Linked DNA regions of Homo sapiens: region 1 is linked to region 2. The links are contacts of gene promoters, found by promoter capture Hi-C in blood cells and fetal thymus (Javierre and others, 2016). All regions are on one chromosome and are shown on one strand. Each heading gives the region's core, a stretch centred on a gene start or on the middle of the fragment in contact. The rest is flanking DNA. Distances are from core to core; before and after follow the strand shown. Region 1 has its middle 1.4 kb from the start of OLMALINC. Region 2 holds the start of AVPI1 (arginine vasopressin induced 1).

The links. The method cuts DNA at HindIII sites, captures the fragments that hold promoters and counts their contacts. A CHiCAGO score of 5 or more calls a contact.
Region 1: a fragment that was not itself captured here is called in contact with the fragment with the promoter of AVPI1 in region 2 in 1 of 17 cell types (M0 macrophages); the score reaches 7.6 in M0 macrophages.

The regions. Positions count from the first base shown.
Region 1 is chr10:100,370,872-100,373,571 of GRCh38, forward strand. No RefSeq gene overlaps it. Among named protein-coding and RNA genes, the nearest start is that of OLMALINC, 1.4 kb to the right of the region's middle. RefSeq lists enhancers at 2,268-2,597, 2,327-2,700, 2,698-2,700. The HindIII fragment of the contact is 2,501 bases long and covers 112-2,612 here.
Region 2 is chr10:97,685,828-97,688,527 of GRCh38, forward strand. AVPI1 (arginine vasopressin induced 1) reads right to left here and starts at 1,414. Exons shown (of 3, transcript NM_021732.3): 1 at 939-1,414. RefSeq lists enhancers at 551-1,504, 1,238-2,437, 1,505-2,458 and a silencer at 1,401-1,780. The HindIII fragment of the contact is 1,235 bases long and covers 304-1,538 here.

The DNA.
Region 1 (2,700 bases), core at 112-2,611, 2.7 Mb after region 2:
TGGCAGGGAGCTTAAGTTTTGCACAAACAGCAGATGCATCCACTGTTCCGGAAGAACCCAGCTCACTCCACCTCCTGACCCGTCTTAACATTCAGTCACACCTGGGTTTTAAGCTTTCCTCTCAAACCATAGATACGTACCCAACATTTCCTGTCTACTTTTCCTAAACTACACTTCACCCTCCTATAAGATTGTGAGCTCCTCAAAAGCATCTTCCTCTTTCAGAAATGTCTCCCTGCCCCTAAACAGTCAGCACTGGAAATGACAGAATGAGCTCATGTCTTGCTCTAAATTCTGTCACTGCTACAAACTGTGTGAAATGTCACAGGGAGTAGGAGTCATATTTTGTGACCTGTAGTTAACTTTCCGTGCTGCAGGCAAAGCGCTGATTCTTGTACACTGACTTTGGAACAAATGCCACAGGCCCTAATTGCAGGCTCCAAGGAGTTGAGATTCCATACTGGGGTTGCTGGAGGCAGAAGCCTTCCCACTTTCAGGACCCGGACCTGCCCTTCCCCCACGCGGTCCCGCCCAGCCAGCTACACCCTGGCCACAGAGCGCTCACAAAGGCTCAGTGTGTGTATGCCGGGCTGACTCACAGTGGTTCTGGGCCCAGGCGAGGACCTTCTCAGAGGGGCGGAAGGGGCCCTCTCCCTCCTGGCCATTTTCCATGGGGAGCAGTCAGTAACCAGGACCATGCCAGACTTCAAAAAACAGAGAGGAAAGTGGAAGTGAAAGGCAGCAGAGGACTCAGAATTGCTGTTTCTTATTTCTTTCTTAGAGAATTATGGACAGCAGGAAGGACTCACCTTTTAGTCTGTCAGTTTGTTTGCGAGAGAGAGAGAGAGAGAGAGAGAGAGAGAGATACATTTTAATTGAGAGACAATTCACACAATATAAAACTAACCACTTTATTTATTGAGATAGGGGTCTCACTATATTGCCCAGGCTGGTCTCAAACTCCTGGGCTCAAGTGATCCTCCTCCCTTGGCCTCCCAAAGTGCTGGGATGACAGGTGTGAGCCACCGTGCCCGGCTAAACTAACCATTTTATTTTATTTATTTATTTTGAGACAGAGTTTTGCTCTTGTCGCCCAGGCTGGAGTGCAATGGGATGATCTCGGATCACTGCAACCTTCGCCTCCCGGGTTCAAACGATTCTCCTGCTTCAGCCTCCTGAGTAGCTGGGATTACAGGCACCTGCCACCATGCCCATCTTTTTTTTTCTTTCTTTCTTTCTTTTTTTTTTTTTTTTTAGGAGAGATGGGGTTTCACCACGTTGGCCAGGCTAGTCTCAAACTCCTGACCTCAGGTGATCCGCCCGCCCCACCCTCTCAAAGTGCTGGGATTACAGGTGTGAGCCACCGTGCCAGGCCGAACTAACCATTTTAAATTGACCAGTTCTGTGGCACTTAGTGCATTCATAACATTGTGCAAACACTACCTTTTGTTCTAAAACATTTTCACCCCAAAAGAAAACTTGAACCCATTCAACAGTGATTCCCCATCTTCCCACCCACACTCGGCCCCTGGTGACCATCAGTCTGCTTTCTGTCTCTGTGGATTTACCACTTCAGGATATTTCCTATACATGGAATCGTACAATATATGACCTTCTGTGTCTGGCTTCCTTCTCTTGGCATAATCTTTCAATGTTCATCCCCATTGGAGCATATATCAGTACTTCATTCCTGTTTATTACCTATTCATATTCCATTGTATGAATACACCACAGTTGGTTTACTGATTTATCAATTGATGAACACTGGAGTTGCTTCCACCTTTTGGTTATTGTGAATAGCACTGCCATGAACATTTGAGTGCAAATATGAGTACCCGTTTATAATTTATTAGGGTTTATATCTAGGAGTGGAGTTGCTGGGCCAGATGCTAATTTGATATTTAACCTTTTGTGGCACCATCAAACTGTTTCCCCAGTGGCTGCACCACTTTAAATTTTCTCCAGCAATGTATGAGAGTCACCCTCTTCTTAACGTGTACCCATTTGTCCCTTTCCTCTTTCCTACTTTTTACAAAGCCAGTTCCCCACAGACTTCTCTTTCCCCTGGAGTAGAGGGTGGGAGAAGTTGCATCTCTAGTAGAAAGACTATCCAAGCCTCCATTCTTACCTTTTCCGCAAATAGAATACGGTGACCAGGAGGAGGAGAGGACAGGCTGCCACCTCCCTGTGGTCACTAAGGTACACCCACTACAGCCATTAACGCGACTCCGTAAAACTACCCTCCTAGCGACCTCCAACGCCTCGGTCCTCACCCAGAACATCACATTAAACTTTTCAACAGTCACAGATAGGAAGGGGCTCGGTGTGGAAGGTGCCAGCTCTGGCTCAGCCCTGCGGGTGAGTGTTTAACTTTCAGCCCAGCTTAAGATCTCCGAAGACACCCATCGCCTCGTCCTGCCCAGTCCCCTCCGCTAAAGGGCCGGCCTGCCCGGGCCTGGCTGGCAGCTGACATGAATGGAGAGGAAGCGCCTCCCTCTCCACCCACTCTCGCCGGGGTTACTGCCGGTCACAGACCCGGGCCTTCAAGAGCTATTTACACCTACAACAGCCCACCAGCGCCTGACCACGCCGGAGCCAATCAGCGGCCCCCAAGCTTGTCTGATTCTGTCTGCTCCAATCAGGAGGCGCGGTCCTTCCAGCCTCTTGCTCCTGTGAATCACAGGTCGGCGGGAGCCTTTT
Region 2 (2,700 bases), core at 164-2,663:
CCTTTCCCCAGACCAGTTCTCATATATGACCTGGAAATAAACTGCTACTAGATCTAGGGATAACCCTTTCAAGATTTCTAGAACCCTGAATTCTGGCTGTGCTGCTAACTGGGTGACCTTGGATAAGTCTCAGTTTCCCCTGCCACAAGTTGCTCGTCATCAAAATAGTATAAGGCCAGGCCTGGTGGCTCACGCCTGTAATCCCAGCACTTTGGGAGGCTGAGGTGGGAGGATTGCTTGAGCCCAGGAGTTCCAGACCAGCCTGGTCAACATAGCAAGACTGCCTCTATAAAATTTTAAATAAGCTTTTTAAAATAAATGGTGAGTATAAATAACTCTTAACAGGAAAAGGGAGATTAAGTTTGTGACGGCATTCCTTCTAGTACCTGGTATACCACAGACATTCTATGCATGCTGGTTGAATGAATAAATGATGAAGGGAAAGGCTGTTTGACTACCAGGGGCTATAGAATCATTGTCATTTTCATCATCACAGCCATCAACAAATCTGTGTACTTTTAAATCATAGCTTTATGATTAAAATCATAGAGGCAGCTTGTTCAGTGTCAAGCGCAGAACAGAGCACGTTCAGATGGGTGCTTTCTTTCCTCCTCACTTAAGGTGGCACTATTGTTATACCCATTTTACAGATGAGAAAGCTACACCCAAAGTCACACAGCTGGCAGGTGATGGAAGCTGGGACATGAACCCAGGCAGTCTGACCCCAGCACCCGGGCTCTCAAGCCACTGTTATTTTTGTTCCTGCCAGATGGCTGAGGAGGTCTTCTGGGGAAGGTCGGTCCCAGAAGCCTTTCGGAGGCTATCTGCTTCTGTAGATTGTGGAAGGAGCAGGGAGGGATCCAAAGTCAGGACTCCCAAGCTAGCCTCTGTACCCTCTGCACTCCACTGCCCGGTGGAGAATTGGAGCAGGTACTCACCACACTGAAGGGCAGCTCCGACAGACCTCAAATGGGGATGGGGCAAGCTAAGATGCGCCCACTCCAACCTCTTCCACAGCCTTCAGAAAGGGCAGGCGCAGCTCTGCGAAGGTGCTTACAAGGGCCAGTCGGTGATCACGGGCAGCACAAGAGCATGGCAGAGGGTATCCTGGCCGAGGTCCTAAGGCGACATCTGCAGCACGAGGAGGCCCCGGGACTCAGACGTGGCCGCTTCGCAGAACGACGGGGTCCTAAGTGGATCTGGCGGTCGCGTCCCGCTGGCACCCCGGCTCTGACTGTCGCCCTCCGGCTCCCACCGCAGCGCCGAGCTGGGCCGCCGACCTACGTACCTGGTTGCTTGAGGCAGGCCGCACGCAGCCCCAAACTGGTCCGGGCCACTTGGGTCACAGCCGCGGTTCCCGGGAGAAAGCGCTCCCTAGCCCCGGAACAGCCAATCCTCGGCCCTAGCCAGGTATGAGCTCCCAGGCGAGCCTTCCAAACCCAAGGCGGAGTTCCGTGCGCCAATCATCGGTGGGAGACAGGGAGGGGGCGTGTCCATCCCCGCCCCCCGCCTCCGCTGGCCTCGAAAGCGGAGTGCGAAGCTTCCTCAAACCTAATCGGCGGCGGAGCGGCGGTGAGGGGGCGTGTCTGCCCGGGCCCTGCCCACCGCCCTCTCCGCCCCCGCGCGGCGCCCGAGGCGCCCCCTTCATTGACGTCAGTCCCCAGGGCCAGCGCGGTTTTGCTGGCGCGGGAGCTGGGCGGGGCTGCATTCCTGCCCCAGGGTGCGGCGAAAGCTGGCCCTGCCGGGTACACGTGACGGATGCCCCTTCTCCTGGGCCCGAGGCCAGCGCGCGCGGCACTGACTGCCTTGCAGCGCGTGGCCCTCTGCAGATCCTCAGACTCTGCCGCTCAAGTCCCCTCCCAGCCCACCGTTTGGCTCCGGCTTTGAGGGAGAGGAGGGGGCAGTCTGCTGGAGTCAGACCTTGGGCTTCAAAGCCAGAATGTCGTGGGTTCAAATATTGGGTCATTTGTGCGACTTTGGGCCGGTTACCTAAACAAGACCGTATTTTAAAGTTTGTATGCATTCGGAAATGTTCATTAGTGACCTATGCTGTCCGAGTTCCTTGATAGGCCGTAAACAAGAGAGACGGAAAGACCTATAGCCCTTGTCCTGGGGAGTCTACAGCCTAGTAAGGGAGGCAGGCATTAAACAACCTAAAACATGGAGTATGTGATTACAGTTGTGATCAATGTTATGGCTATAAGAGGATAAATATGGAGGAACCTAAGCTTCCTCTGGGAGGTTCAGGAGGGCTGAAGAAGCAGCATTTAAGCTGAGATATAAAGAAGGAGTTGAAACTGGTCAAATGAAGAGGAGTGGATCTGGGGAGACTGCTTTAAGGAAAGAGGGAAAGGCATTTGGTTGGGCCAGGAGGTAGCTTGGCTCCGGAGGAATTAAATGCGACCCGGAGTAAGGCTAGCAAGAGAGAGCACGGTGGGAAGTAGAAGGCAGAGGCAGGCAGAGAAGGTTGCATGTGATCCTTGGAGGGGTTTAAACAAGGAATGGCATTATATGTACTGTGTTTATGTAACGGGCATTTTATAGTACTTACCACGTACCAGTAGTGTCAGTCAGCACTTTGCAAATTTCATCATCATGACAAGTTTGTGTTTTTAGAAGGTCACTCTGGCTGCAGTTTGGAACTTGGATTGGAGGGGGCAGGAGTGGAGGCAGGGTGTCCAGTAGGCCTCTGATAAATGC